Linked DNA regions of Homo sapiens: all the other regions are linked to region 1. The links are contacts of gene promoters, found by promoter capture Hi-C in blood cells and fetal thymus (Javierre and others, 2016). All regions are on one chromosome and are shown on one strand. The core of a region is centred on a gene start or on the middle of the fragment in contact, and the rest is flanking DNA. Distances in the headings are between cores, read along the strand shown.

Region 1 (3,815 bases), core at 1,031-3,530:
AGGTGAAACTCCAACTCAAAAAAAAAGTACTCTTAATATCAACTAATTAATTTCACTACATACCAGAGGGATAAAAAGGCTGACACTTAAAACACTTTTCAAAATATGTGCAACTATATTAATTTTTTTAAAAAAGAAAACATTTCACATTGAAAGATGACATCTGCCAAAAAAAAAAAAGATCAAAAGTGTATCTGGACAATTTTCCAAGAAACTGCAACTCTTTCCTAACTAACACTCCAGAGATCCCATTAGTTAGAATTTTTATGTGGTATAAACCATCTCCTAGGGGGCTGAACTGTATTTTAGTGAATCTAAGAGACTGAATGTCAGAATTAGTTAAGTAGCATTTAGAAATCTCAGGCCTAGAAAAGGGTAACAATTTAAGTCAGAATTAGGTTTTCCAATCTACTTGACCTGGTCAGAAACTCAAGATAAAAGTTCATTATCATTCCAGGATCTCAACCCCAAGAGTCAGAATCCTTTTTATTGAAAGTCAGCTGTTTTGCTTCTTTCTCAATTTTCTACATTTAACAAATGGCTTTCTTTATCCAAGGTGAAACTGAGTTAAGCTAGAGATCATTTTGGATCTGGTCTCTCTTTTGGTTATCGAAGAGGCAGAAATGTCTCATTAATCTGCCTTGCCACATGCAGAGTAAAACCGTTACTTAATAGCAACAATACACAGACTTTGCTTTGTGTTGGAAAAGTATTTTTTTCCAATATCTATTAAGTCTACTTTCTGCCTTTGATATCAGCAGGAAGGGGCAGCCAACTCCCTCCACTTTAGGGCTTTTGAACAGCCCAAATCCTGAGGGGTAAGTGATAAGAAGTTATCACTTAGTGCTTACTATATACCAAGAGCAGTTTCTAAGCACATGTACGGTACTAACTTAAGTTTCACAATCGCCAGAATCATAAGGCACACTCATTATTCCTCATTTTACAGATGAGGAAATCAAGAAACAGAAATTTCACTTGTCCACGTCTCACGGCAAGTTAGCGGAAAGGCTGAGGAATTTATGTACAAAAGCGACTTAAACTGGCTGCATGCAACGGCAACTCTCGAACAAAGAGGGCTGTTCTGCCCAACAAAAATTCAGTGTATATATCTTTTAAAATACAAGATCAAATTCATGACCCACCTGGAAGCCAGAACGCCCCTTTCCACCTTCCCTGGCCCAACTACCATCTCCCTACTCATTCAGGTTGCAGGTTCTTTTGATACATCCCAGAGAAGGAGCCAAGAAGTTAATTAACCTTGAGCAAATGAGCAAACTCGCCTTTTCTGGCCCGGAAGATAGTGAGTAAAGAACCTGACTAGACCTTCTAGAGAGCCGAGATTCAGAACAACTGGCGCGACACACAGAAGGAGAAGGCAGGCCGGGCCTCGGAGTTACCTTGTAGCGAAGCGCTTGGTGAATATCGGCGGCCAGCTGTCCTCGCCACCACTGCCCCTCCAGCTCCATGGGACCCGGCGGCGCGCCCAGCCCGACGCGGCAACTCGAGTCTGTAAGACACACCCCAGGCGCGGTCACTGCCGGCTCCCCCGCGACCCTCTGCGCCCCCTCCCCGGGGGGTGTGACCTCAGGCCACCCGGTGTGGCTGCTCATCTTCACTTGACTCTTCCTCAACCCAGCCCGACCCGAGTCGTTTCCCCCAACGCCACACGCGAAGCCGGGTCTGCCCCCGCAGGAAGAGCCGAAGGACTCTGAGACTCACTGCTCGACTATGTGTCGGGCAAAAGGGGATCCACTCGGGCCCTGAGTTGCCAAAGCGCGGAGCCAGGTGCGAGCTCGGGAAGAGCTGGGGGAGGCCCGGCTGGGGCTCCCTGCGTCCGGGGCTGGAGTTCTCCCGCCCTCCCTGAGGAGCGGGGAGAGGTGACACGCTCATAGCCCCGCTGAGGGGAAACGCTCCCATGGCAAAGCCCGGGGGTGAGCGTCTGCCTGGCCGCGGGTCTCCGCATGGACGTCGGGAGCCTGCTCCTCCCCGGGAGCCCCGAGAAACGCACGTTCCGCGCGGCCTCAGAAAGGGGAACAAAAGGCCGGGCCAGCCAGGCTCTGCGCCTCACCCCGGGAGGGTCCGCTGCCCCACGCCTACCCCAGGCCTGCCGGGCCGCCCGGCCCCACGCTGGCTCCCTTACCCGGAACCGCGGCCCTCACAGCCCCAGCCCCGCCGTCGTGCGGCGGACGCCGGCCCCGCTCATGCTGCGGACAGTGGGCCGCTAAGCGCCGGCCTCAGCTAGAGCCCAGCGCCTGGACGCTCGCGCCGCCCATTGTTAAAGGACCGGCAGGCGGCTCCGCATACAAAGCCAGCGCGGGGGCACTTGAGGCCCCGCCGCTGCCAATCTCGTCTCGCGATACAGCGGGGTCGCCCCGAGCCGTCCAATTGGCGGCCGGGCCGGGCCCAGGTGCAGCGCCAGGCGGCGGCGCGGCGGCTCCCGCCTGGGTACGGTCAGCATCCCGCACGGCGCGGCGTGGCCTGGGCTGGCCTGGCGCTTCGGTTGCCGGGGCGCTCAGCCGCCACCTACTGCGAAGCCGGCCTGATCGCCGGCTGAGGTCGGCAGAGAGCGCCGGAGAAATTGTAAGGTGGATCACTGCAGTGACCAATCCAGTTAGGCCACTCACCTGCTGAGAACCTTCGATGGCTCCTCGATGCCCGCGGAGCAAAGTTCCGACGCCTCAGTTTGGCGTTTAAAAGTCTTCACGGCATGGATTCGGTTTACCTTACTTCACGTTGCACCAACCGCTTCCATCCCAGGGGCTGCTCCGTGGATCATCAGGCCCTCCAAATGTGCTTTAGCTGTTTCTGCAGCCCCTGAAGCGTTTTTTTTTTCCTGTGAAATTATGCTCTTTTTTTAAGTTCCACCTCAAACTCCACCTTTCTTCTAGAAACCTAATTAATCTCTTCCCCCTCCTTATTTTCGTTGCTGTAGGGATTCCCAAGAGCTTTGAATGAAGACATTTAAGATTACTTCTAGTAACCTTGCTTGTCAAACCCATGGTGGATGTAATTAACCATCTGTGCTCGTAAATCAGGAAACTGCAAAACTGTGAGAACACTCCGACGTCAATTGAGGTGATATGGGGGCTGAAATGTGATTAGAGGAAACCTAATCAATTGTATTTTAACCTCTTTGGTGGATTATCACAAAAGAGGTGGATGGTAACCCTAGGACAGTGAGACTGTCCACTTTTCTGAGACTGGAGATCAATCTCTTAATAGTAAAACGTAAATATTTTTAAAACTTCACCCCTTTTACTTTGAATCCTTTGTCCAAAAAGATACATGATGATAAAGAACTACTACAAAGTGATAAATACATTTTATGTGATTCTGGGTGGCATCTTCATTTGAAGATCATCAGCAGACATGTATATGAGCCGTACCCTATCCATAGACGATGCTTATACCCAGGAGAGCAGGCCCGCAGGAACCAAAGGCAAGAAAAGGGAAACTCAGAAGCTGAAGTTGGCAGATCCCGGCCTAACCCGACATAGTCCAGGGAGAAGGCTGCCCTGGCCTGTCTCTCAGTTGCAGGGTCCTCTAGAGTGAAGGTAGACACATCAGGCTAAAAGCTTCATGCCATTTTTAATGGCATTTAAATAGTGTCTACATCCTTGGGTTCCATTTCATGACTATTAAACAACTTTATAATAATTTGGCTTCTAAATAACTGTCCAGGGCCTATTTAAGAACACTTTCAGAAAAATGGGGCACAGACTATAATCATTAGTATAAGAAGTAGACTGTATTTATCGCTTCTACTTTGAAAATATTGTTCACTGGGATATATTTGTTCAGAAATCATTATT
Region 2 (4,352 bases), core at 655-3,154, 290 kb before region 1:
AATGAATAGCGTGAGCGTTCTACCAGGATAATGCCTGGTCCAGAGTAAATGCTGGATAAATACTAGTTTGGTGGGTGTTACATGATTTGGAATATTGTTATTGTAAAAGAGGATGGAGGAGTCAGGGAACCCGTTCCAGCCTGGACTTTGTCCCTACCTGGCTGTGCATCTCCTGTCAAGTCATCCAGACTCCCTGAGTCTTGGTTGAGTGAATGAAAGGATGGAGGAAGGACATGATTAAGACTCCCTCTGGCTTTAACATCCTTTCACACTGAGATGCCATGAAACTGATCGTCTAAGTCAACTGCTCCTGGATGACATCTCCCACAGTCAGGAATGGGCTCTGAGACTGAAGGGAGCAATACATGAAGCCTAAGACAGAGGACAGGAACACCTTGGGAAAGGAGGGCAACGAATTGTCATGGAGACTAGTTTTCCTGAGAGAAACACAATCTAGAAATTTTGTCCTCTTCATGTGGGAGTAGGGAGCAAGCCTGGGATACTGGTGCCCTCTAGTGGTAAGGAACAATTTGCTATTTTAGGAAAGCTCACCCGGGATGGTTGAGGAGATGGACTTTGCAATCAGAAGTCCTTTATTTGTTTAAAGTCACCCAGCTAAAAAGCAAAAGAGCTTAGTGCTCTGCCAGTGCCTTGCAGAACCAACAGCAACAATTTCTGAGTACTCTGAGGAAACAGACTAGAATGTGTTGAAAACATGTCCATCTTAAAAATAAAATGGGCAAATGTCAACCACTTCAGCCAGTGATGCTTAACTGGCATGACATTGCATAACCAAGGACTTCTTTCTGGAACGTTCCCCTTTCTCAATCAACTATGTGTTCCCAAAGATTTATGTCTATCAGACAAGTTGCATTTATGATATATTTTTTCTTTTCTTCCCCTTTTTTTAGGAATGAAAAAAGCATTTAGTTGTCAGTCAACATTTGTGATTAGAGTAAGAAATCCCAGTGCTAAGATGCTGTGCTGAATTAATTCCAGTCCAAAGCAAAGACACCTGACATTTAACCCACGGCTGAGAACAATTAATTTGTGTTGTGTCATTCATCTGTATAAAAAACCCTCTACGAACCCATTTCACTCAAAGCAACAACCAGCTACCTGGGAAAACAGGAGAAACAGGGTGAGGTGTTTAGTTGGGAGGGTGGAACACATGCGAATGGGACTCAAATCACAGGTGTCCTCTCCTGTGAGTGACAGGATATGGAAGCTACTACTTATCCAGTACTGGCCACGTGCTGGCTTGGTGCTGAGGCTTTGAGAACATCATGTCACCTAATGTCTCTGCAACTCAGGGAAGTAGCTAAGGTCATCGTCCTCATTTTCCTGACGGGAAAATTGAGTTTTACAGGATATAGAGAACTTGTCCAAGATCACCCAACAGTAAGAAGCAGTGCAGGAGCTTGCAACCAGGTCTGGGATGAACTCAACTTGTGCTCTTTCAGAAAAATTTTATAGCTTGATTTTATTTTTAATTAACATATAATAATTGTATGCATTTGTGGGTTATAATATGATATTTTGATACATCTATATACATTGCAGAATGATAAAATCAGACTAATTAGCATGTCCATCACCTCAAACTTCTACCATTTCTTTGTGGTAAGAACATTAAAAATCCTCTCTTTTAGCTACTTTGAAATATACACTTTTATTAACTATAGTCACCATACTGTGCAATAGAACAGAGTTTATTCCACCTGTCTGACTGGAACTTTGTACTTGTTGACCCTTTTCCCTGTCCATTTTCTGTCCTCATCCCCCAGCCTCTGCTAACCACCATTCTACATTCTATTCTGTACTTCTACGAGTTTGACTGTTTTAGATTCTACATATACAGAAACGAGATCATACAGTATTTGTCTCTCTGTGCCTGACTTATTCCACTTAACATAATGTCCTCTAGGTTCAACCATGTTGTCTCAAATGACAGAATGTCCTGTTTTCGAAAGGCTGTGTCATACTCCACTGTGCATATACTACATTTTAAAAATCCATTCATCTGCTGTGGATGCTTAGGTTGTTTTTATATAATATCTTGGCTATGGTGTATCATGCTGCAATGAACACGGGAGTGCAGACCTCTCTTTGACATACTGAGTTCATTTCCTTTGGCTATATACCCAGAAGTAAGATTGCTGGATCATATGGTAGCCCTGTTTTTAGTTTTTTGAGGAACTTCCATACTATTTTCCAAAATGTGTAATTTACAACACCACCAACAATACAAGAGGGTTCCCTTTTCTCCACAGCCTCACTAACACCTGCTGTCTTTCATGTTTTTGATAATAGCCAATCTGACGGATGTGAGATAACATCTTATTGTGGTTTTAATTTGCATTTCTCTGATGATTAGAGATGTTAAGCAAGATGGCAATATCTGCTTGCCATTTATATGTCTTCTTTTGAGAAATATCTATTCAAGTCCTTTGCCCATTTTTAAATAGGATTATTTGTTTTCTTGTTATTGAGTCTTTTGGTTTCCTTGTATATGCTGGATAATGGCCCTTATGTGATGTATGATGTGCAGATATTTTTTCCCAATCTGTGAGTTGCCTCTCCACTTTATTAATTGTTTCCTATTTCAATCCCCTTGCTGGTTTCTGTACTTCAGTGGTTCTCCTACTTGAGCTGCATCAGAAACACCTAGAAGCCTTTTCCAAACAAATTTCCGGGCTGAAATCCCCAGAGATGCTGATTTGATTCCATAGGTTTGGAGTGGGGTGAAGAATTTCCATGTCTAACCTGTTCCTGGGTAAGGTTGCTGCTGCTGGTGTTGGGGACCACACACTGGGAATAACTGTTCTAAATTAATCTGTCATACTTGGCCATGTGTGGACAGGATGCCTTGAGTTAGAGGTTTCTGGGTACTGGCCCCTCCCCTGTCACCCAGCCCCTGTTGCCGTCATCTCTCCCCTGGGCCCAGGTAGACTCGGCCTACGTCTTTCAGAAAGCTAACATCATCCCATGGGTCCATGTAGCACTTACCCGGGAGCCAGTCCATCCCAACAGGGCAAAGGCACGACGCTCGTAGGGGCACAGAACTAAATCCACACGGATGGCCTTCCAGGTCTTTCCTTCCTGCCAGCTGGACTGGTCACTGTCCACTCTTTGACGAGGCAATTTGAAAATCAGAAAGCACTTTTGAAAATGATCCAAAGCATCAACCTTCCTGCTAGGCAACCTGAGCTTTTCAAATGTTGACTCCACAAGGTCATAATATAAAAGTAATCCCTGAAAAGAAACAGAATGGCATCAGGAAAAGGCCCTGATGAAGAAGATCTATGATTTAACACTGGATTCTTAATGAAATCTTTTCAGATTCGAGCAGAACATGGACATGTGTTTGGCCTTGCATTAAAGGCCCACCTGCAAACACTAGGAGAAAACACTAAGAAAGTGGTTGCATTATCTTCCCTTTACGGAAAAGGAATTTAGCGATGAGAGAGGCTGAAGCAAAGCCACTTAATGGCAAAACTGCAAGAAAATCTCCCTCTCCACTTCTGAACCTCAGCTAGTGCTCTGGGCTCTCCTCAGTCCTTTAAAAACAAACCAACCATAAACAAAAAGCCACGCTGCAGGAATTTGAGACCAGCCTGGGTGACATAATAAGACCTCATTTCTACATAAAATTTTAAAATTAGCCAGGTATGATGGCACGTGTCTATAGTCCCAGCTACTCAGGAGGCTGAGGTGGAAGGATCCCTGGAGCCTGGGAGGTTGAGGCTTCAGTAAGCTGTAATCACACCAGTGCACACTAGCCTGGGAGACAGAGCAAGACCCTGTCTCAGAAATAAATAAATAATAAAACTTAAAAAATCATATTGTTTCTGGGGAGCAGCTTTGAGTTAGTGTCTGCTATAGTTTGGATGTTTGTCCCCCTAAATCTCACGTAGAAATTTGATCCCCAATGTTGGAGGTGGGGCCTAATGGGAGGTCTTTGGGTCATAGGGGAAGATCTCTCATGAATGACTTGTGCCGTCCTCATCCTCATGGTAATGAGTGAGTTCTCACTTTGTTAGCTCCCGTGAAAGCTGGGGGTTACAAAGAGCCTGGCCCCTCCCCACTCTGTCTTGCTTTCTCTCTCACCCTGTGACCTCGGCACCTGCCAGCTCTTCCTTGCCTTCTGCCATGAGTGTAAGCCCCCTGAGGCCGCACCAGAAGCAGATGCTTGGTGTCGTGCTTCTTATACATCCTGCAGAACCATGGGCCAAGTAAACGTCTTTTCTTTATAAATTACCCAGCCTCAGGTGTTCCTTTATAGCAAGGTAAATGGACAAAGACAGTGTCCCTTCATATTATACTGATGACCAGGTTTAACCAGCCAAAAG
Region 3 (4,044 bases), core at 38-2,537, 400 kb after region 1:
AATAATACCTAACTTATGAGGCTTAATTCATGAGAATTCAGTAAGATGATGATGATGATGATGATGATGATGATGATGATGATGATGAAGGTAGAATATGGAAAAGCTCAAACTATTTTTCCTCTGCTCTCACTCCATAACAACAATCAACACAGAAGACTTCTGTGACCAAATGTACGGGGTTGCAGTGGACATCAGTTGGGTATCCTCCAATTCAATTCTGACACTGTCTCCCTGAGGACAGCCCACAGGTTGAGGGCTCAGTCCCTCAAGATCATCCCCATCTTCCTAGTAGTCCTGAGTCCAGGCTTCTGGAACTTCTGACTGACTGGCTTCAAGTTGGGGTTCCCACAGTACCCTCTTTGGGCTTGATTGATTTGCTAGAGTGATGCAGAGAACTCAGGGAAACACTTAGATTTACCAATTTATTACAAAGGAAACAGATGAAGAGATATGTAGGGTGAGGTGTGTGGTAAGAGGCACAGATCTTCCATGCCCTTCCGGGGCACGCCACCCTCCAGGAACCTCCACATGTTCAGCCATCTGGAAGCTCTCCGAACCTTGTCCCCTTGGACCTCTTATGGAGACTTATTGGATAGGCATGATTGAAGCATGGGCAACTGTGTCGAAATGTGATTGAACAAAAAGAATGTGACCTGATACTAATAGACTGAGTGGGGTAACCCAGCAAGGCCTGTCTGTTCAGATTTTGTCTTGGTCTTCCTGTGCAATATTTCTTCCTCCAAGGTATGGGGCAGGACCCTCTCTGGACTGAGGGTCTTACAACCCACAATCAAATTAGAGTCCTGCCTTGAGTAGGTGAAAGGAGTTCAGGAGAATACCAGAGAGATTCTGTTTCCTTACACCAACATTATAACAAAAGACTGTAAAAAGGATTATTAGAGTTATAAGCCAGGGACCATGGATATATATGTCATGTCACAGTAAGTAACACTTTTTTTACAGTACCAGTTAATATTCATTGAGTATTTTGTGCCAATCTCTGTTCATGCATGAACTTGTTTTATCCACCCTACCAACCTTATGAGATAGTTAAGGAGACAGCAAGTAAGTGAAGGGGTTGAAATTTCACTCAGGCAGTCTGGCTCCAGAGCCAACACTTGTCCTTTTTACTCCTGTAGAAGGTGTATGAATACTTAGCACAACTCCTGGTATATAGTAAGTGTTCACTTCAGTATTTTTATTGATACTTATCCTCATTAGACTCATTCACAGAAGGAGGCACTTTCTAATTGTTTCCCTAGGTTTTTGAATTTGGGGATTTGGATTTTTCTGGAACGTGGAGCTCTTTCACTGACCATGATAAGCAGAATAGCAGAGGGAAAAAAAAAGAAAAGAAAGGCAAAATGAGAACGCTTGTGGAGATAAACAGAGAAGGCAATGGAAGGCCAGAGAGAAAAAGAGTAGTCATGTCTGGGTCCCTTCTTGTTGAGGCCTGGAACACAGCCTCATTGGTTACTGGGCATAAGGATTCTGATGCTGAAGAAGTAAAGGGTTCTCCTCTGTCAGAGTGGTAAGAGTATAATCCGTGGCCCTTAAGAAGAACATGGACAACCCCTCCCATCCCCCACCATGCCACATCTGTACACACATACACTTCAGTATGCCCTCATACCTACTAAGAGGGGACAGATTTTCTTTGGAACTTAGAGCCTAAAAGTTCCTTAGAAGATGGGAAACAATTATTTCTCTAGAAGCCTTGAATTTTCCTAACTAATCAAGGCCTTCTCAGTTTTCAATATGGACCCTAACAAGTATAATACATTGTAGAACATTAAAAAAATACCCCCAAGAAAGGTAGGGTCAGCCTTGGAAGGTAAAAGGCGTTGTTCAATAGGAAACCCAACAAGCCCTGAGTCCCCTGAAGCTCTCCTTTGTGCTAGAACCTACTGGATTTGACTGAGTCAACTGCATGAAACCTTGTTGTTAGTGGTGACCTCCTCTTGAACCCTAACAGGCCTTATCTACTGCTGTTACCCTATTGTCTCCAGCCAGAATGACCCTTGACTACCTGGCACTGAACCATGCGACCCACCCTCTTCTCCTGATACAGACTGTGGGTTAGCCTCCTTCATGCTAGCCTGGCTGCTGGATTCTGATTGGCTTCTACCATTTGATCACCTGGACAGACATGCATGCCACTGCCTGTGTTCCTGAGGTACCCTCTCAGGCTGCTCCACCCATGCTCACCACCCTTCCAGGTCAGGATAGGCCCTCCAGCAGACAGGAGAGAAAGCCAGAAAGCCTAGATCTGACAGCTACCAAAAGGATAATACATGATACTTGGCATAGCTCTAAGCTCTGCAAACAGCCACTGATGATCCCTGGTCCAAACCCTAGGGGAGTAAGCCTGTCCCTCCACCACCCTTCTCTCTGGCAGATCAGTAAGACCAAACCATTAGGCATACAACTTTTAAACTTAAGACTTAGTTGTACATATTGCTTAGGATAATATTCCTGAAAGCAGAGTAGGGTACCTATATTATTAATAATTAACCCAATGAAGGAAAGTAGCACTCCATAAAACTTAGCCTCAACAACAAACCAGTCTTTTAGTCCCAGGGACTCCCACAGCAGGAAGAGACCGTGCACCTGTGGATCCAGCAATGCCATCGGAATCCCAGTTCCATCCCAGATGATGGCTTACCAAGCAGCTCTGTGCCAGGATCTAGATGCCAAGCCTGTTGTGAAAAAAAATCATATTATCTTTCTTATATCTCCACAAACCTGAAACATAGTCACTTGAAAAACGGTTATTTAAGGAAAGGCAGAAATGACTATTACTTCATTAGAAATGTTCTTTCTAAGATATGTGTGTGAAGGAGGCAGGAAGGGAGGAGAACCCATAGTCGCCTTCCCATTCATGAGAATAAGGTCCTGCCTGCTTTACCCACCATCAGTAGATTGTGGTTAGGGAGTGAGTTAGCGGCCAGGAGATAGTCAGAAGGTCTAAAGAAATTTTGAGAAAATTGTCTGTAATTTATAGACAGACAATATAAAGGGAAGTGATAGTGGTTCAAGTGAAGGTAGTTAACTCTCTAATAAAGTTATAGAACAGTGGTTCAAAAGGTGGCTTGGAATGATAATTTTAGTAATTCATTCAAATATTTATGAGTTGCTTGTAATGAGATATAGAAAAGTCTTTCCAGGGAATTGCTTAAAGCTTAGTCCTGCTGAGAACCTATGTTACCCACCTTGTCTTGCTTCTTGCTATCAGGGAGGAACGTCTATTTGCTTAAGTGCTCCTCTACCCCCCACTGATTGACAGCATCTTATCTCCCATGTAGGCCTCACACAGTCCATCTGCCTATGCACTCATTGTCCTTCTGTGTCAGTTACAATTATGTGCATGTAGCAGGAAACTCAGAATATTCATGGCTCAAACAGGATAGAAATGTTTTTCTCTCTTTCTCCTGAAGGAAGCCTAGCAGCCCTGCAAGAAGGTAGGCAGTCCAGGGCTTCCAGAATAGCACTGTGAAATCCATCAGGGATCCCTGCTCGTTCTTTCTTGTTGCTTCACAGTTCCTTCTAGTCCAAAATGAATGAATGAGCTCCAGCCTTCATACCCATGTTCCAAGAAGCAGTGGGGATGAAGGGAAGAAAGCATGTCTCTTTTAAGTTCCTAGAAATCCCACATAACATTTTCACATGTATCTTGTTAGCCAGACTTGGTCACATTGTCCTGTCTACCTGAGCAAGAAAGGCTGGGAAATGTAGTCTTTCGACTGGTGGCAGTGTGCCTGGCTAATACTTGGGGATCTGGTAATTGTGTGAGAAAGGGCGAATGGGTAAGTAGTAAGCAGCTAAGCAGGAGGTGTTGGGCCCATAAGAAGTATTGAAGGGGTTCTGTGCCTGACATTCAGCTTTTACTCTTTTACTTTTGGCTTTATGCAGGTATCTATTTGGCTTTTAATGAAGATTTTTTTCCTCCTTAGAAATCTTGTAGAATTTTTGTTTGTTTGTTCATCTGTACAAATTATCTGTAATCTTGTACAGTGTTACAAGAAAAAGAATCAGGAAAGA
Region 4 (4,131 bases), core at 75-2,574, 340 kb after region 1:
ATTCTCCATCTTGTCAGCTATTTTACTGAATGTATATTAATCATATATATATTTTAAGTCTATACCAATTGTTATGACCTCTTATTGGGACCTAATATTATTAATTTGTGTTTTTTAATTTGATCTTCTAAACATTTGTCTGTTTATCTTTTCACATAACCAGCTATTGGTTTTATCAATTACTCTACTGATTTTTTATTTGTTTTTAATTTTTAATTTCCTCTATTATCTTTATGAATTCTCTTCTTTATCTTTTAATTTGTAATTTGTTTGCTTACTAAATTGTAAGATTAAGTTTAGGATTATTTTAAATATTTCTTTTTAAAAAATAAAAGTACTTGAAAATATAAAAGTTCTCTAAGTTCTATTGGCTTTGTTCTATGTATTCTAGTTGTTTAACTTTCATTTTTAATTAGTTTGTAATTTTTGTGTTTATTTTCTTTTAACTCAAGATTTATTCAAAAATGTGATTTTTTCCCTTAATTTCCAAGAGGATATTTTGCTGTCCTTTTATGTTAATTTCTAATTTTAATGCATTGTGGCAAGCAGAATGTACTATAAAATCTTTGCCTTTTTTCTCTTCATTGAGATTCCCTTTGTGGCATAATACATGGTCAATTTTTGTCAATGCTCCAAGTATGATTGAAAATAATTAGTACTATTTGCTTATTAGGTTCAAGTTCTACACCATCTATAGATAAATTGAGAATTTTAAAATCACTTATTTAAATCTTTTTCTCTATTTTTATTATTTAATCTATCTATTTATGGAAGAGGTATGATAAAAATCTTTTACTCTGATGGTGGATTTACCTAGTCTACTCTTTCCACTACTTATTTGCTTTTATATTTTAAAACAATGTCTTTAGATCCACAAGGATTCATTAATTTAACATCTTCTAGGTAGTCTGTAACTTTTATAAAGATGAAATATATATTGCCCTCAAATATAATTCACTTAGAATTTTATTTTTATCTTTATATTTTTAGAGATAAGGTCTCACTATGTTGCCCGGCTGGTCTTGAACTCCTGGTCTCAAGCAGTCCTTCTGCTTCAACTTCCCTTCCTGAGTAGCTGAAATTATAGGCACAAGCCACTGCACTAGGCTGGAATTCTATTTTGACTGTCATTACTATTACCACATCTGTTTCCTCCTTATTAGCATTTGCCTATTAAGATTTTATTTCTGGCTGGGCACGGTGGCTCAGGCCTGTAATCCCAGCACTTTGGGAGGCTGAGGCGGGCAGATCACCTGAGGCCAGGAGTTCGAGACCAGCCTGGCCAACATGGCAAAACCTCATCTCTACTAAAAATACAAAACATTAGCCAGGCGTGGTGGTGGGCACCTATAATCCCAGCTACTTGGGAAGCTGAGGCAGGAGAATTGCTTGAGCCAGGGAGGTGGAGGCTGCAGTGAGCCGAGATCATGCCACTGCACTCCAGCCTGGGCAACAAGAGCGAAACTTGGTCTCAAAAAAAAAAAAAAGAATATACTTCTTAATAGATGAATTAAACTTATTCATATTTATTGTAATTATTTATATATTTGGACTTATTTGTTTTATTGTTTTTCCATTTTCTTTTCTTTTTAATAGAGACAGAGATTTGCTCTATTGTCCAGGCTGGAGTGCAGTGCTGTGATCACAGGTCACTATAACCTCAATTTCCTGGGTGCAAGCGATCTTCCCAACTCAGCCTCTTGTGCAGCTAGGACTATAGGCACGTGCCACCATGCCCAGGTATTTTTTTTCATTTCTTGTAGGAACGGAGTCTCACTATGTTGCCCAGGTTGGTCTCAAACTCCTGGCCTCAAGTGATCCTCCAGCCTCAAGCGATCCTCCTGCTTCAGCCTCTCAAAGTGCTGAGACTACAGGTGTGAGTTCCTAATATTTCCTTAACCAATTTAATTCTTCCATTTTCTTTTTTTTTCCTGGAACTCATATTAATCAAACATTGGACTTGTAGATTTAATCCTCAGTGTCTCATATTTTCTATTTATTTATCTTTTTGTTCAATAGATTAGATGTCCTTATATTTATCTTCCAAAATTTTAAACAAAAAAGTTAATAGTTTTAATTTCCAAGAGCTTTCTCTTATTCTGATTGCTCCTTTGCCAAATATTCTGCTCTCATGAATGTTTTATTGATTACTTCTCAAATCTCTCTTATATTAACTAGTGTATCAATTTCTAGAAAGAATTCTCTATTTTTTCCTCAAAGAAAATATCTAGTTATAGGTCCTTTTGAGTACAAAGGCAAACTATTCCATATACCATATAGACCTTCGATGTATTTTCTTGATTTCCATCAACTTTACCTTTTATCTTCTCTCTTACTTGCTATCGCTAGTTCTGGCTACTCTGTGGTATTCTGCTGGAAGGCAGCTGTCTCCTTTGGCTGCAGTCCCTTTCCATGGATATTCTAGGCTGCTGCTTCTTCAGTCAATATCCTTCCAATTTCTTCAAAAATGTATGAAAAATCTTCCATACTGACCATGCTGATGGTCAACCACACCTCCTACTTTTTGTTTTTATAAATATATACCCTTTTAAGTCTTTTAACAGGTATTTTAATAAAATTTCAAAAGAGGGGTCAAATGTGCATCTTTCTTTCCTTCTTACCTCCTTTCTTTTCTTCTCTCTTTCTCTCTCTCAATCTCTCTCTTTCTTTTTTTTTGGACAGGATTTTGCTCTGTCACCCAGGCTGGAGTGCAGTGGCACAATCAAGGCTCACTGCAGCCTCAACCTCTTGGGCTCAAGTGATCCTCCCACCTCAGCCTCCTGGGTAGCTGGAACTACAGGTGTGCACTACCACACCTGGCTAATTTTTATTTTTTGTAGAGACAGGGTTTCACCATGTTGCCCAAGCTGGTCTTTAACTCCTGAACTTAGGCAATCACCCTGCCTCAGCCTCCCAAATTGCTGGGATTATAGGCATGAGCCACCACACTTGGCCCAAATGTGCATTTTTCTTCCATCTTTAATCACAATTCCTAGTTGATTCCTCTCTAATAGATGCAAAATTCTCATGTCTCTCTATAAATGTTAATTATATTTGTTCTAAACTATTTTTCTAACTTGTCCTTTTTAAATTTTTTTTTCCTTTTTCCTTTACTTAAGAGACTTTGTCACCCAGGGCAGAGTGCACTGGTGTGATCATGGCTCACTGCAGCCTCAACCTCCCTGGCTCAAGCGATCCTCCTGCTTCTGCTTCCCAAATGCTAGGATAACAGGTGTGAGCCACTGTACTCGGCCTTGGGTTTTGATGTTTCTTGAATATTATACCCTTTTTTTGTTTGCTGGGTTTTTTCTTTTTCAAATGTAGATCTTTTGAGTGTGTGTCCACCTTGGTAACTGAGATTCCCTGTTAGCCTATGCACAGGCGGGATCTGCTTATTGCATTCCACCTGCAGGGTTTTTGAAGAAGAAAATGGTAGATGTGGAGTTTGACAAGGTGTGTATCTTAGTCCATTTTCTGTTGCTTATAACAGAATACCTAAAAATGGGTAATTTATAAAGAAAAAAATTGATTTCTTACAGTTATGAAGCCTGGGAAGTCCAAAGTCAAAGAGGCATACCTGGTGAGAGCCATCTTGCCGGTGGGACTCCCTTGAGGTGGCCCTGGGCAGTGAGCCTGTGGAGAGTACCCTGACCTGTCCTCTGAAACTATTCTGTCCTCCTATGCCTCTGGGCCTGTGATGGGAGGGGCACCCTCTAAGATCTTTGAAATGCCTTTGGGATCTTTCTTCCCTTGTCTAAAGGAATGGTATCTGTCTCCCTTTTATCCAAACTAATCTCTTTAGCAAACAGTCACTGGGCTGCACCCTTGGTTTCCTCTGCTGAACGTGCTTTTTTACTCTTCATGTGGTCAGGCTGAGAGTTATCCAAATCCTTCCACTCTGCTTCCCTTTTCATGATAAATTCTACCTTTAAATTATTCCTTTGCTCCTGAATATCAGCATAAGTTGTCAAATGTAATCATGTAGCTCCTTCTATATTTGGCTTAGGAATTTCTTTTGCTAGATACCCTAGTTCATTAATCTCAAGTTTGGCCCTCCACAATTCCCTCAGGCATGGACACAGTTCAGCCAAGTTCTTTGCCAATTTATAACAAGGATGGCCTTTACTCCAT
Region 5 (4,049 bases), core at 1,510-4,009, 360 kb after region 1:
AGAAGTGCTCGTTTAGAAAGACTTGAATTTAAGTTGTTGGCTGGCACTGGAAGAAGAGAGAGAGAGGGTGGTCAAGGGGAAGGAAAAATACTCATCTTAGCATGATATCTATTAATAGATACAAGACAAAATACCGCCTTCAGTTTTAGTTAATTTGCTTCTTTTCGTTGCTAGTTCCAGGTTCCTGTAATACTTACCTCACAGGCTAATGCTCCTCTGTTGGCTGGAAACACTTGTCAGAATGTAGTTTCTCAGGTAGGGATACTGACCTCAGATTCTGGACTGATGTGTGTTAATCAACACTGCCAGAGGTGCCTCATCTTCCATTAAGTATCAGACTGACCCAACTGAATTTTGTTTGCATTCTCTAACAATGTTGGGAATGCAAACTTGTTGTATTGGTAGATTCTTGGTTGCAATCCTTGGTAAAAGTAGCATATTGTGAATTTCAACAATTCCCAACAAGTTTGAAATTAAACTTGTCAATAATTGAGCCCATTATCCTCCCTACCACGTTTCAGTTATTTCCATCACCACCATCCTCCAGTATTTCAGGTCCAGGACATTAAAATTATTTCTGACACCTCTTCTGTTGCCCACTTGCAGTCTGTTACTGATTCTTACTGACTGACCACATTTTATTCTCTTGACACAGTATCATCTGAAACTCTGAAGTAGATTAATCAACTTGTATTCCTCTGTTCTCTAAACAATCTAACCTTAAAAAGTAAGAATTATCTTAAAGCATCTTCTTAAAGACTATGCTCAGAAATTTAAGGTTACTTTCAATTGCCTGCAACTTGTATCCCCAGCAATGATCTTTATTAATTCTCAAACATTGTGAGAGCCAAGTAAACCAGATTTCTGTTCCATGCTCACCTCTGCCTGTTTCTACTTGCCCTCCTCTGTCCGTAATCAACTTATTTTTCTTCCCTTTCAGTTCCTACCAAAAACTCACCTACCCGTGAACCCTTTTAAAGAGCTCTATCCAGTTTCTTTTTCATATACAAATATAATATGAAATCATCTTTATCTTTCATAGTATTTGTGTTTGGCATTTTTAACATTACTGTTTCAGTCTGCCTCATTTAGTTATAATAACACCCTTGAAGACAGAAAATCTTCTGTCCTAAACATATTCGGCCCAATAACTACTTTTTATTAATTGATTCTTTTTGCATTTCAGGTCACCTATGAGATAGAGACCAATGGGACTTTTGGAATCCAGAAAGTTTCTGTCAGTTTGGGACAAACCAACCTGACTGTTGAGCCAGGCGCTTCCTTACAGCAACACTTCATCCTTCGCTTCAGGGTTAGGGCCCTTCTCTTATAGGGGATTTAGAGGGGAAGAAATATTGGGTTAGAAATAATTTCTTTGCTTCTGTAATACATGTGAAATAGAATAAGAATATGAAGGCCTAGTTCAGTCTGTCGATTGAGGCCTCAACATTTAATATTCCATAATTTTACTACAAGTTGTGGTTATTCTACAAGTCTTTACTCATTAAAATTTTCTCCAATTCTCTGTCTGGCCCCCAACAAAGCAGGACTTCAATCTAAAATCAAAACTTTTTTTATAGTCATTTTGAATCATAAATTCAGCCAACACCTACAAAAATTCTTTAACTAGCTGTTCTCATATTTCTGGGCAGTCAGCATTTTACTCATTTCCCACTTAATCTGAGTGTTCACTCTTAATCACTGCCATTTGGCTTTCTGCTACTTCTTTCCTCTTTTTGAACCCAGCATAGATTTTCTCAACTCTACCCTCAGGTGATCAACCAACTGCTGTGTCTCTCAGAGCTCATCTCTGGAACATCTGTAGTTAATTAAAATATATATTTTTTAATTACATTTAAATTTTTCAGATTTTAACCAGGCTGTGTTATTATTGCTAAATTGCTAGTAATTTTTAAGGGATCCTTAGTAGATTCTTGGTTGTAATCCTTGGTAAAAGTAGCGTATTATGAATTTCAATATTCAGATCATGAAGGATTTATTTTAGTAAATTTAAAAAAGTGAAAGAAGCAAAATGCTACACTGTGGAAAGAAGCCAGATTGTTCAGTGTAGCTCACTTATTGCATTTCCTTGCCTTAAGGAAGGGTACGGTGAAGCCAAGCAGTGGGAGGTGGGAAAGTATGCTTATCTCCATAATTGACTTCTCTTCCCTCTTTCTGCAGGCTTTTCAACAGAGCACAGCTGCTTCTCTCACCAGTCCTAGAAGTGGGAATCCTGGCTATATAGTTGGGAAGCCACTCTTGGCTCTGACTGATGATATAAGTTACTCAGTATCCTTTTTAGAGCTGGGTGGCCTGTTGCAGCCTAATGAGAAAAGCTGCAAAGGCTTTCAAACTTATGTTAGACTAGCCAAAGGTGAGGAATTTTTTGTTCATTATAATGAGGTACTTATATACTAATATATGGTTAATCATTTTTGGAATCTAGTTGTCTCTCTGTGGTTTTCTGAGGAAAAAAATCACAAATTTGTGACTCGAACATTATGATAGTAATACAAAATAAATAGCATTAAAGGAGAATGAGAACATAAATTTTGCAATGCTGCCTCCTTTTTTTTTCTGTTATGATGTCCTTGATCATCACTTTTCCACCTTGGATGACCCTCTTACAGAGCCAGGGTAATGGAAGTTGCTCTGTTAAAAGACATGAAGTGCAGTTTGGAGTGAATGCAATATCTGGATGCAAGCTCAGGTAGTTCTTTGCTTCCGCATCATTTCCTGCAATTTCGGGAATATGTAGGGAATATGTTGATATGGTAACTTTTATATTTTTAATGACAGTTCGGAAAATGCTAGTCAGGAATAGTCTTTTAGTCTAAATAGTGTTGATATTGCTAAGAGTTTTCTGGCAATTGTTAATACCTACTAAGGATTATACCCTCTGGTCTATTTTATATTATTTCCAATGTTTGGTTTAACATACCGTACTAATATAGGTATATTATTATGTTAGCATTGGACTGCAGCCTCCATGGTGTTTAATTATAGGTTGAAGAAGGCAGACTGCAGCCACTTGCAGCAGGAGATTTATCAGACTCTTCATGGAAGGCCCAGACCAGAGTATGTTGCCATCTTTGGTAATGCTGACCCAGCCCAGAAAGGAGGGTGGACCAGGATCCTCAACAGGCACTGCAGCATTTCAGTAAGGAGAGAAATATACTTTCTGATGAAGACTCATTTTTACCCCTTTGTAAATCTTGGATAGTAAGTTTAAAACCAGCCTTGTCTCCATAGATAATGCATTTGTCATAGAAGGAAGAGTATAAGAAATCATGCCCACTTGAAGCCTTTTTTTTTTTGAGATGGAGTCTCACTGTGTTGCCCTGGCTCGAGTGTGGTGGCATGATCTCGGTTCACTGCAACCTCCACCCCCCGGGTTCAAGGGATTCTCCTGCCTCACTCAGCCTCCCGAGTAGCTGGGACTGCAGGCACCCGCCACCACACCCGGCTAATTTTTGTATTTTTAGTAGAGATGAGGTTTCACTATATTGACCAGGCTGGTCTTGAACTCCTGACCTTGTGATCCGCCTGCCTCGGCCTCCCAAAGTGCTGGGATTACAGGCATGAGCCACCGCGCCTGGCCTTTTTTTTTTTTTCTAAGTCAAGATCTTGAACTCTTACCTAGGCTGGAGTGCAGTGGCACAATCATGGCTCATTGCATTCTCAACCTTCTGGGCCCAGGCTATCCTCCCACCTCAGCCCCTCGAGTAGCTGGGACCACAGGCACATGCCAGCATGCCTAGATAATTTTTTGATTTTTTTGTAGAGACAAGGTCTCAGTATGTTGTCCAGATGGTCTCAAACTCCTGGGCTCAAGTGATCCTCCTGCCTTGGCCTCCCAAAGTGCTGGGATTACAGGCATAAGCCACTGTTCCCAGCCTGAAGTAGTTATTTCAGGTTAGGTTTAAAATACCTAATGTATTTTCCTTACTTAGAAAAAAATTTGAAGGCAGATAATCTACAGATTTCTGTTGTTCAAAAATCTCATATATTTCAAATATTTTATATTCTTGAATATTTGGTCAGCACAG

Evidence for each region. The method cuts DNA at HindIII sites, captures the fragments that hold promoters and counts their contacts. A CHiCAGO score of 5 or more calls a contact.
Region 2: a contact is called between a fragment that was not itself captured here and the fragment with the promoter of CCNJ in region 1, in 1 of 17 cell types (fetal thymus). The highest score is 7.5, in fetal thymus.
Region 3: a fragment that was not itself captured here is called in contact with the fragment with the promoter of CCNJ in region 1 in 1 of 17 cell types (activated CD4 T cells); the score reaches 5.4 in activated CD4 T cells.
Region 4: a contact is called between a fragment that was not itself captured here and the fragment with the promoter of CCNJ in region 1, in 1 of 17 cell types (total CD4 T cells). The highest score is 5.0, in total CD4 T cells.
Region 5: a fragment that was not itself captured here is called in contact with the fragment with the promoter of CCNJ in region 1 in 2 of 17 cell types (naive CD8 T cells and activated CD4 T cells); the score reaches 7.1 in naive CD8 T cells.

Annotation. Positions count from the first base shown.
Region 1 is chr10:96,042,048-96,045,862 of GRCh38, reverse strand. CCNJ (cyclin J) reads right to left here and starts at 2,280. Exons shown (of 6, transcript NM_001134375.2): 1 at 2,144-2,280; 2 at 1,401-1,510. The coding sequence starts at 1,469. All of the region lies in intron 2 of ENTPD1-AS1 (ENTPD1 antisense RNA 1), which reads left to right. RefSeq lists silencers at 2,000-2,569, 2,697-2,891. The HindIII fragment of the contact is 7,328 bases long and covers 1-3,580 here.
Region 2 is chr10:96,331,254-96,335,605 of GRCh38, reverse strand. DNTT (DNA nucleotidylexotransferase) reads right to left here. Exons shown (of 11, transcript NM_004088.4): 9 at 3,010-3,255. Among named protein-coding and RNA genes, the nearest start is that of OPALIN, 26 kb to the left of the region's middle. The HindIII fragment of the contact is 8,239 bases long and covers 1-4,352 here.
Region 3 is chr10:95,644,365-95,648,408 of GRCh38, reverse strand. All of the region lies in intron 2 of ALDH18A1 (aldehyde dehydrogenase 18 family member A1), which reads left to right. Among named protein-coding and RNA genes, the nearest start is that of ALDH18A1, 10 kb to the left of the region's middle. The HindIII fragment of the contact is 3,798 bases long and covers 1-3,186 here.
Region 4 is chr10:95,698,152-95,702,282 of GRCh38, reverse strand. It overlaps a transcript of ENTPD1 not described here. Among named protein-coding and RNA genes, the nearest start is that of TCTN3, 6.3 kb to the right of the region's middle. The HindIII fragment of the contact is 7,434 bases long and covers 1-4,131 here.
Region 5 is chr10:95,681,762-95,685,810 of GRCh38, reverse strand. TCTN3 (tectonic family member 3) reads left to right here. Exons shown (of 14, transcript NM_015631.6): 8 at 175-255; 9 at 1,187-1,312; 10 at 2,182-2,289; 11 at 2,616-2,710; 12 at 3,007-3,160. Among named protein-coding and RNA genes, the nearest start is that of TCTN3, 10 kb to the left of the region's middle. The HindIII fragment of the contact is 8,509 bases long and covers 1-4,049 here.